3 separate regions of the Homo sapiens genome follow, and all the other regions are linked to region 1. Evidence: promoter capture Hi-C in 16 types of primary human blood cells and fetal thymus (Javierre and others, 2016). All regions are on one chromosome and are shown on one strand. Each heading gives the region's core, a stretch centred on a gene start or on the middle of the fragment in contact. The rest is flanking DNA. Distances are from core to core; before and after follow the strand shown.

What was found. The method cuts DNA at HindIII sites, captures the fragments that hold promoters and counts their contacts. A CHiCAGO score of 5 or more calls a contact.
Region 2: a fragment that was not itself captured here is called in contact with the fragment with the promoter of PUM2 in region 1 in 2 of 17 cell types (M1 macrophages and monocytes); the score reaches 7.2 in M1 macrophages.
Region 3: a contact is called between a fragment that was not itself captured here and the fragment with the promoter of PUM2 in region 1, in 1 of 17 cell types (M2 macrophages). The highest score is 5.9, in M2 macrophages.

What each region holds. Positions count from the first base shown.
Region 1 is chr2:20,348,461-20,352,109 of GRCh38, forward strand. It overlaps PUM2 (pumilio RNA binding family member 2), which reads right to left and starts at 2,384. Exons shown (of 21, transcript NM_015317.5): 1 at 2,137-2,384. RefSeq lists a silencer at 1,767-2,656 and enhancers at 1,852-2,481, 2,482-3,113, 2,817-2,906, 3,114-3,649. The HindIII fragment of the contact is 4,637 bases long and covers 1,667-3,649 here.
Region 2 is chr2:21,233,937-21,237,701 of GRCh38, forward strand. The region is part of intron 1 of LOC105374317 (a long non-coding RNA gene); the gene reads left to right. Among named protein-coding and RNA genes, the nearest start is that of TDRD15, 110 kb to the left of the region's middle. The HindIII fragment of the contact is 5,187 bases long and covers 1-3,765 here.
Region 3 is chr2:21,329,749-21,333,417 of GRCh38, forward strand. All of the region lies in intron 2 of LOC105374318 (a long non-coding RNA gene), which reads left to right. Among named protein-coding and RNA genes, the nearest start is that of TDRD15, 210 kb to the left of the region's middle. The HindIII fragment of the contact is 1,237 bases long and covers 1,656-2,892 here.

The DNA of each region.
Region 1 (3,649 bases), core at 1,134-3,633:
AACCTCCACTTAAAACTATGCAGATCATGTTAGGGTCTATAAAAAGGAGACAGCTTGGTCACTGAGAAAATTGGCTGTGGATTTCACACCTGGCCCAAATCTCTGGTCATAATTACTTTTGTTAACTAAGATAAGTACCTACTCCGGAAGGCAAATTATCTTTCCACACCAGAAAGGTTTATAAACAAGCCGGGTGTGGTGGCTCACGCCTGTAATCCCGGCACTCTGGGAGGGCGAGGCGGGAGGATCGCTTGAGATCGGAGTTCAGCCCAGGAAACACAGTGAGACCCTGTCTCTACAAAAAATGCAAAAATTAGCCGGGCGTGGTGGCGTGCGCCTGTACCCCCAGCTACAGTTACTCGGAAGGCTCAGGTGGAAGAACAGTTGCAGCCCGGGACGCGGAGGCTGCAGTGAGCCCAGATCTCACCACCTGCACTGCAGTCTGGGCGACAGAACCAGACCCTGTCTCAAACAAGAAAAAAAGATTCATAAACAAGTATGGAATGCTTGAGAGAAACAAAATCCAAGTATTATTTGGTAATTTATATACAGTATTTGTAATGCCTGAGAATTTATTCTAAAGTGACAGCTTTGTAAGAGCAAAGTAAATGTCAGTAATTAATTTAGGCTCTTTTAAAAAGTTGAAATCTTGCTAAATGCTGAAACACCTAAGAGAACTTTGGACTCAAATTAAGGAAAGCATGTGTTAAACACAGCTTAAATTGCTGGAAAATGCGTAAGTTACTGGCAATTATAACTCAAAATAGCTAGACCTGTAAACAAAATTTAAAAACTGGACTTAAATCCTCAAGAACCAGGTTTCTGAAATAAAATTTTATTTTTAAGATTATCGTAAACCTTTTCTGCATACAAAAACTGCCCTCATGCACACCAAGAAAATTCTACACAATGCAATTTCACCAAAAATCGGAATTTTAAAGAAATTCTTGCAGCACGGAAAATGCCATCATTTTTATTCATAATGATTGAGCAAATGAAGTAAATCATTGTTTAAAAGGAGGCTAGGAAGAGAAACAAGTTGAAAATACTCATTTTTGTTTTTTTTTTTTTATTTACAGGATTCCTTAAGTCATCTTCCAATACTCCAGGTCACATGGTGAAGAGTCACCTGTTAAACACGAAATCTAACCATTAAACAAGCTTTTAAAATCCTTCGGTAACTCCCTTTATTAAAATTGTTTTCTTGACATACAGTACCTTTACAGGTATTACATTTCTCTTCACCGTTTACAAGCATTTTTCTCATGTTTTCCTTCACCAAAACATCTGCCCCGTTTTCTCAACAAGTAAAAATCTCAAAGTACTAAGTCCTAACATGATGTCTTATTGCACCTAATATGCTGGCAATACATTCCTCTCTTCAAAAGTTTACGTATGTTAGAATAAAAAGCTAAGTTAAGTAGGTTTTCTCTGGCTGTGTTTTCAGAAACAACACTAACTTTTACACGTGTTTGGGCATGAAACTTTAAACATTTTCCCCAAAACCTGACCCAATTCAGATACAAAACTACTGCTCAAATAGTAGAAGCCGCTAATCTTGTCTTTGGTTTTAATTTACATATTTTTCTGAATATCGAAATCCGTTCCTATAACCTAAACAAGGCGAATCCAAGTCACTGCTTCATACCCACATCTGTCCACGGCAAGCTTTTCCCGGACACACTCGGGCCTTTGAAAATGCCCACACTTGTTTTCATAAACCCACTCCTTCCTCTTCACCCACTTGCAATCCGCATGCTTCTCTGGGGCCACCCGGCCTCTCCCCTCTTTCCGAACCCTAGGGCCGACAGCTCGGTCTCTAACCTCCAGCGCGCCGAATCGGAGGGAGAACCGGGTCGGCGCCCCACGCCCCCGAGGCGGCGGCCCCGCAGAGGGAAGGAAGCGGGAAAGCGGCCGGCGCGGCGCCCCCTCCCCCGCACGCGCACACCCCCTTCCGGCACCCCTCCCCCTGCATTGTGCGAGCGGGCCCCAGGCCGCACCGGCCCGGGCACTCAGCAGGCCCTATCCGCCCTCCCGCTGGCGATCGGCTCCCGCCGAGGCCGCCGCACAAAGCCTGGGGAGCCATCCTCGACGGCGCCAAAGGACCGGAGAAAGAGCGAACGCGGACTGACTTACAGGGCTGCTGCGGCCGCGCTGCCTCAGCCGGGGACACCGACCGTTGGGCACACGGCGGCGTCGCTCTTGGCGGTCCTCCCCCTCCTCCGCCTTCGGTGGCGGCAATGTCTTCTTTCTCCACCTACCACCCTCCCCCCCCACCCCACCTCCTCCTTCTCCTCCCCCTCCTCCTCCGAACCACCGAAGTACCGAGGGTGAGACACAGAGACTCACAACAACATGGCTGCCACCGCCGCCTGCCCTCCCCTCCCCCCCGCCCACCGGGCGCGCGCAGTGCACCCCGGGAGAAAGGGGAGGGGGAGCGCTCACCAAGGCGCGGCTCCTTTTAATGCCTTGCGTCCCTGCTCCCGCGCTGCCGCCGCGCGGGCCGGGGGCGCCCTGCGCGTGCGCACGTTCTCCGCGCTCTCACGTGTTTGGCCGCCTCTCCGGCGTGCCCTCCCCCGCCCTCACCTTGCGGGCTCGCGCTTCCCTCCTGGGCTCCGCCGCGGCGGGCTCGGAGAGCGCAGGCGTACTGTTGCCAAACGCTGTGTTCGACTGTCTTCCCGCGTGGGGCCTCGCCTTCTGAATCTTCTTACCCTCGGCTTCCTACCCGGTTGCTCACTGTTTTCCCCCAACTGGGTGTGCGGGTGTCTGCGCCCGCGCCGCCCACCGTGGGGTACTCCTGGCATTTCGCTTCCAGAGTGCTGGCGCCCACAAGAGCCGGACGTTAATTCAGGCCTTTAACTTTCACTCTGTACCTCCCCACAACCAGACGAGGGAGATGCATCTGGGGGTGGAAGATTGTACCCTGCGAGAGGGCTGTCACTCTTCTCGTGGTTGCACCCCAGGCAGGTGGAGCCAGCTCTCAGCAAATTGTCGGCCCCCAGTGCTTGGTCCCGGTGCACACAAAGGAAACTCAGGTCGTTCTCCAGCTGGGCCAGTGATTCTCACTCGTTGGCTGTTTCTTTTTCTCGCGTACTAAGCGCTCTCTCCTTCCCCGTTTACAGGCTAGTTGGAAACTCCAAATCTGCCTTGCTGTCCTGGACCCCCATGCAAAGCAGTGGTGATTCCAGGATTCTAACCTAACCGGCTCCAGGTCACACAGCTGTAACAGGCACCGTGTCCGATTTGTTCTTGATGGTTTGTTTGCACAGCTCCTGGCTCTCCTGACATGCTGCACTTCGTAAATATTCAGGGCCTCCCGTATAGTTTGCTTAATATATGTCTTCCCTAGGCGACTGTGAGCTCCACGAGGGCAAGGACCTTGTGTTTTGTTTCACACTGTGCCCGCAAGTGCCTGTTGAATACACATGGGCTCTTCGGTTTTTAACTATTACTGAAAAATGTCTGACATTGAAATCCATCCCAAGCCCCTACCTTAGGCTCATATTTCAGGCTTCTAGATATTTTCACTTGAATTTTCTTGTCACCAAGCATGTTAAAAACTGAAGTCACACCCATCCCCTACCCCCCACTCTTGTACTGTCTCTGTAATTGGCAGTGTCACCACCTATTCATTCCCCAAATTACACCT
Region 2 (3,765 bases), core at 113-2,612, 880 kb after region 1:
TTTTTATTATTGTAGAGCTACTTCATTTCTTTTATAATGACTACTACGGTATATGATATTTCATTGCACAAACATACACAATTTATACAGCCATTCTTTTACTGATATACATTTGCATTGTTTTTAATTTTTCACGATTCCAAACAATACTGCAATAAACATTCTTCTGTAGCAGTCTCTCTTACTGCATGTATGTGAGTGTTCTCTACATATAAAGCTGGAGGTGGAAATTGAGTAATTGGTTGTGTATATCATCAGCTTTACCAGAGTTACATAATACTCGAAAGTAATCACTTAAAACTCTGACAAATAGTATGTAAGATTTCTGGTTTCTTTTCGTCATTGCAAACACTTGACATTGACTTGCTGCTTTTGCCAATCTGTTGTACTTAAAATTATTTCTAATTTTTGTAATTTATGTTTCCCAGAAGACTTAGAAATGAAGTTGAAACTGTGGTTGAGCATTTTTCCATATTTTTATCGGTCTTTTGGCTTTCCTGTTCTATAAGAAATCTATTGGTATCCTCTACTATTTTCTTTACTGGATTGTTTGCATTTTTAATATTGCTTTGTATGGGTTCTTTATACATTGTGGATATATATTTCACAGTAGCATGTGTTGAATGCTTCTGCTAGTCTGTAGCTTTTTTTAATCTTTGTGACATTTTTGTTTTTAATTTAATCGGTGTGACAGATTGTATTTTCCAAAGATAGCCACAAGGGTGTCTGCTGTCCAACAGACTCTTCTAGAACTTTGCCACTCCCTCAAAAGATGGAACCTATGTCTCTTACACAGAAAATTGGGAGAGACCCTGTGACTGCCTTGACCAGTACAGTTTGGCAGAAGTGTTGTTAGGTGACTTCTAATGCCAAGTCACACACAAAAATGCTATTTCTGCCAGGTTATCTTGGAATACTTTGTCTTGGAATTCAGCCCTCATGCTGTGAAGAAGTGCAAGCGGACTACGGGGAGGCTGATGAGGCAAGGAACCAAGGCCCCTGGTCTGCAGCTCCAGCTGAGCTTGCAGCTGCCAGCCTGCATGAGCTCTCCAGCCTGTGAGAGAGCCATCCTGACAGAGGGTTACCCTCAGTCAAGTAGCACTAGATGTGGAGAAGAGACAAGTCATCCCTGCTTACAAGGCCTACTTACACTGCAGATTTGTGAGCATAATAAGCCATTAAGTTTTGGGTGGTTTGTTAATAAGTAATAAATAATTGATAGAGCCAGATATATCAGTCTTATCTGTTACTGTGTCTATGTGTTATCTGTTACTGTGTCTATGTGCATGCATACACACGCATGCATGTATGTTCTTAAATTCTTTTCTATAATACCTCACAGCCATAAAGGTATGGATTTATCTTTTTATCTAAAAGTTTTAAAGTCCCACTCTTATCTTTTTAGTTTATTTAATACCGACATGAATGTATAGTGTGAAGTGGGGACATAATTTTTTCCGTGTAGATAAATAGTTTTCCCAACACAATTGGCTAGTCTAACTATGGATTTTAGTGCTACCTGTGTTCTGTATACATTTCTGTATACTTGTTTTTTGTTTGTTTGCTTATTCCTGTGCTAATATCACATTGCCTTATTTGCTGTAGCTTTAGAGTCAGTCTCCACATTTGTCAGGACATGCTGCGTTATTCAGTCTTTTAATTCACAATTATTGTGATAACTTTTGGCCTTTTCTTCTTTAATATAAATTTTAATATTAGCTTGTTGAGTTCTGCAAAATATTCTGTTGACGTTATTGATAGATTAATTTGGGAAGACTTGTGTATGGCTACATTCACTTAGAATTTTTCTATTATAAATGGCATATATAAATATTACATTTGAATTGTTGCTATTATCAAGGAATACTTTATTTTTTCATTTAGGTATGATTTACATGAATAAAATAGACCCATTTTAAGTGTGTGGTTTGTTGAGTTTTGAGAAATGTATAAATTCCTGTAACAAACATCTTTATCAAGACCTCACTCTCATCCCAGAATGCTCTCATCCCTCTTTCTAAAAAATTCTTTCCCAGCCAAAGGCAGCTACTGTTCTGGGCTTTATCTGTGTAGAGTAGATTTTTCTCCTCTTGATCTTCATGTAAAATAAATAATTCAGGGTGTATTTTGTTCAGTGCAGTTTCTTTCCTTCATTACAGCTTTTGTGAGATTCATCCATGTTGTCGATAACAATAGATTTTTCTATTTAACTAGTGAATAGTATTACATGGTATAAATATGCCACAATTTCTTTATACTCCTGTTTATGGGCATGTGGGTTGTTTTCAATTTGTGACTCTTATAAATAATTTTACTAAAGATATTCCTCTACAAGTCTCTATGTGGGCATATATTTTCATTTTTTCTTGAGTAAACACCTGGAATGAAATTGCTGGGACATAGGATAGGTACTTATTTAACTTTGAAGAAATTGCCAAATTGTTTTCTGAGTTGATTTTACTATTTAAATTCCCACCAGCAATGCATAAAAGTTTAAGTTGCTCCACCAACATTTGTGCTGTTAACTTTTCAGATTTTCAGCATTTTAGTGAGCATGCGGTAGCATCAAATTAATAGTTTAAATTGCATTTTGTTCTTATTACTGGTCACATTGAACATCTTTTTCTGTGCTTAAGTGTCTTTTCCAAAGTTTGCCCATTTTAAAATTTGGGTTATTTGTTGTTTTATTCTTGAATTGTAGGCTTAAAAAATACTATGTTCTGGATACCAGTCTTTATCAGATACATTTATTGAAATATTCTGCCACTTTGTTTTCTTCATGTTGTTTTTCAAAGAGCAGATCTTAATCAGTTGACGGAATCCTATTCTTTTAGAGTTTAAGACTTTGCCATGCTATCTAAGGAATTTTTGCCTATTCCAACATTATACATGTTTTTTCCTATATTTTCTTCAGAAAGTTTTAACATTCTAGCTTTTTATGTTTAGGTCTCTGATTTACTTCTCACTATTTATTGTGTGTATGAGGTGTGGTAAGAATCAAAGTTCGTATTTGTTTTAAATGAATATCCAGTTCTTTCAGCATCATTTATTGAAAAAAAGCATCCTTTCAAATTGAATTACCTTGGCACTTGTTAAAAATCAATTGAGCATGTATGTATATATTTTTGGACTCTGCATTCTATTCAGTATATCTGTGTGGCCATCCTTATGCCACTACCAAACCATCTTGATTCCTTTAATTCTGTGTTAAGACTTGATAAAAGGTAGCATTAGTTTTCCAATTTTGTTCCTTTTAGAAGTTGTTTCGGCTAGCCTAGGTACTTTGTGTTTTGATGTAAATCTAAGAACCAGCTTCTCAATTTCTATTCCTACCCCGAATATTAAACTAGCTGCTTAATACATTTTGCCTGTGTTCTAGTTGGTTATAGTGAGTGTGCAAGTTCTGTGCCATCCCCAGAATGAAGGTGTGCTGATTAAGTTTTATGTGTCGACTTGGCTAGGCTACAGTGCCCAATTGTTTGGTCAAACACTAGTTTAGATATTGCTCTGTGACTATTTTGTAGATGTGATGAACAGCACAACCGGTTGACTTAAAGGAGATGACCCTTGATAATGTGGGTGGGTTTCTCTGAATCAGTTGAAGGCCTTAAGAGCAAAAACTGAAGTTTCCTGGAGAAGAAGAAATTCTGCCTTCACACTTTTACTCCAGCCTGCTGTACTGCTCTGTAGATTTCGAACTCAAACATACAACTTTAATCCCGTCTGAGTTTCCAGCCTGCCTGTTTGCCCTGCAGATTTTGGACT
Region 3 (3,669 bases), core at 1,024-3,523, 980 kb after region 1:
AATTAGAACCAGAACAGTTGATTTACCTTTGAAGAGCATACTCAGGTTAGATTTCTACCTCGTGTAACAAAATTAATTCCAATTCAGTTAAATGCCCTTTTATAAATCAACATAAAAATGAGTACCTTAGTAGAAAATATATAAAGTTTATAAACCATTTTTAAACGAAGAAATGTAAGTGACCAACAAGAATGTGAATTTAAAATAACATATTTTTTTCATTTATTTACTTTGCAAAGAGAAAAGCTGCGAAGAGGTTGTGGTAAATTGGCCTCTCTTCTACTCTACTGTTGAGGGTGTAATTTCGCATAATCATTTTCGCAGGGTAATTTGGAAGCATGTATTAAGTCTTAAGAATATGTATTCTTAAAATGTCCAGAACTTTCAGCAAGTAATTCCATTTCCAGGAATTTTTCTTTAGGATATAATCAGAGATTTGTGTAATGACTATTGCATAAGGATTCCTAGTACTACATTATTTTTATAGTGAAAATTAGGAAAAAAACCATAAATGTTCATAGTAGGGAATTGCTTAAATTTTGGTTTAGTTCTGTAATGTAGTTCTGTAAAACCTTAACAAACTGTCTTTTCAGAGAAAAAATGACAAGGGAAAAGTGTGGGCTGTTAGTAAAAAAAAAAAAAAAAAACAGAGAAAAACTGCAAAAATTAATTTATATATTAGCTTTTGTGAAGAGGGAGTTTAAAACACCCCAGACTCTCTGGCGGAATCAAATCTGGGCATATTTTATTGAGTAATATATTAGGAAGTAAAATAACTTTGTGTAATTATAAGGTTTTGCTCAGATATGGGTGACTCTTCTCTTGCTTTTGTCTTGCCGGAATTAAAATGACACTTTGTATCTTTGACTATTTCTTCTTCTTCTCCTCCTAGAAGTGGGTATATGAGAAAGCAGGCATGGACAAGAGGGCAGAAGCTGTTGCCATTGGGGAAGTATTCTCTCCTGCGATCTTTTTCTCTTTGTCCTTCTCTCTGGTGCCTGGAGCCTGGCATGGACTCTCCTTCCTTATGTTAAAGTAGTAGGAGGCAAGATCCCAATCCAGGCTTAGGAGAAGCAGAGAAGGTAGGGCCTTTGGTTTCCCCAGCACAAGGAAAAACAGTCCTTCCTCTTGCTCATTAGAGCCACATGTTAGGGCTTGGGACCAAACATCAGGTATCAGTATGATCTAGCTGCACCTTACCCTCTGGATGTATTTATTTCACTCGGAGACCTTTCACATTGTAGTGTTCTAGGACAGGATTGGGTGGTTTAAGCCTTGATCTAATACTATCTTAATCTCATCAGAATTTCTCTCTGTCTCGTCTCTCTCTTGAGAAACTGATTTTACAAATAGAGAATGGCCAGACCGTATATAAAAATAGAACTCTGACTCGCAATCTGTAGCAATCAGTCCAGAAGGACAAACCACAACCTCTGTAGCAATCAGCCCCAAACAGTCAGGAGTTGAATCAATAACTGCCAGCTGCACTATCTTTTGCCCTGTTTCCAGTTTAGAACTAACCAGGGGAAGCTAAATACGCTCTCCTTTCCAATTACACAGGATGCCCTGATTCTAGTGAGCCTACCTCCAGCTTCCCTTATGCCAAAAACCTCCAATAGTGGCATATCTGAATCTTCCCTTTTTGTTCATTATAAAGCTTTTATACTCCACTGCCTACCTTTAGTGTCTCTGAACTGGAAGTAATGTCCTTGCTCTAGCAAGCTCTGAATGATCTTTGCTTGTTCTCATTTGAGTGGTCTTTGTTTCCAGACTTTATCTGTGTATTTTCCTATAGGTATATGACTATATATACAGAGAAATATATACCATAAAGGGAGAAATATCTAGTATCTGTAGAAATATACACAATAACCACAATAAATATATATTGCTATATTAGTTTCATATTGGAAAACTAAATGCACAGGGTGGTCACATTGGAACTCAAGGAAGGCCTGGCTTCCAGCACACTTTCAAGAAGTTCTAAAACTCCAAAAAAGAAGAAAAACTATAGGCTGGAATCAAGGAAGTCTCTGGGAGTGAGAAACTGGAGCAGAAGCCAGGTGGAGACAGGAAGTCAGAGGTCAGTGTGATTTATCTGTAGTGCAATACAATTATGTCAAAGACTAGTCTGGAAGTACTCTTGTGAGCAGAGAGGGAGAGAGACTGAAGGCAGGAATGCTAGCCAAGTCTCTTCAACAGTGTAGAAGAAATTCTGAGATCACCCAAGAAGAAGGGATAAAATACTACTTCTTCGAGCCATATTGTGATGGCTAATTTTATGGGTCAATGTGACTGGGCCACTGGATGTCCAGATGTTTGGTCAAACATTCTGAGTTTCTGTGAGGGTGTTAATGGATTAGATTAAGGTTAAAATCTTAACCTTAATCTAAAGCAGATTTTCCTCCACAATATGGTGGGCCTCATCCAATCAGTTGAAGGCTTGAATAAAGCAAAAGGCTGACCCTTTCTCAAATATGAAAGGATTAGCCCGTTTGAATGCCTTTTGAGTGAAACATCAGCTCTTCATCAGCTCTATCACAGCTACTGGCTGTTGGACTTAAACTATGACATTGGCCCTGTAGATCTTAGACTTGGCCTTCCTAATGACATGAACGAATTCCTTATAATAAATTTCTTTATATATAGGATATACATATAAAATATAGAAAATTTATATACAGGATATAAATATATATATGCGTGCACACGTGTGTGTCTATAGAGGATATATATACATAGGCTACAGATAGAATATATATAGATTGTGTTTCTCTGGAGAACCCTATAGTATACTATAGCATAGGAAATGTTTCCTGTTCTATAGGAACCATTTTTCAAGTTTGATTAGACTTAAAAGGCTAAGCTGGTATTTTGAATGAAGGAAATTGAAGCTTTTAAGCTACAGAATGAAATCATTAGTAGAAATGGAAAAACAAAGAAGGCCAGAAATGATATGGGGCAGGGGAAGTAGGGGATTGGCTAGTTCTCTTTGGAATATATTGAGTTTTAAATGACAGTAGGATATCCAAGAACAGCCGAGGAGCTGTATATGTTTTATAAAACATCCTCTGTAATGTTATTTGAAAGGAAAAAAAAGCAGTGAGATATAAAAGTTTAATGGATTATAGAGAGACTGATTTCTTGAAACAATTATCCCCAGCTCTGACACCACAGGTTATCACCAGTTTTCTTAAGGAATGTCACCAAATTTTAATCAAAATTAATTTTAGTTTATTTTGCTCACTAATCATGATCTGAAACAGCACACATCAGTGGGGATGAAGTGGAATGAAGTAGTCTCTCATATACCACTAATATTTTGCAACAACAGGCAAGTTGTAATTGTTATGCAAAACTGTCTAGATTGCCAGTTTACACTGAACTCAGCAGGTGACCCCTTCACTCTCCAATTCTCTTTGCATGTGCATAACCAGACTCAATGGTGTACAGAGGGACTGCTCAAAAATGTTGACTGTCAAATGCATAAACATGAACCAGGGTTAGAAAAACAGGATTAATGCAGCCTGCTTAATGAGTGTTCTCTGCAGAATGACTCTTCAGCAAGGAGGCAAATGTCCAATAGATTCAAGAATGTAACTGGAGCAGCAAAAACAGGTCCACTGGTGGCGTCACTCTCCGAGCTGTCTGATGCCCTGCTTTGCGCTT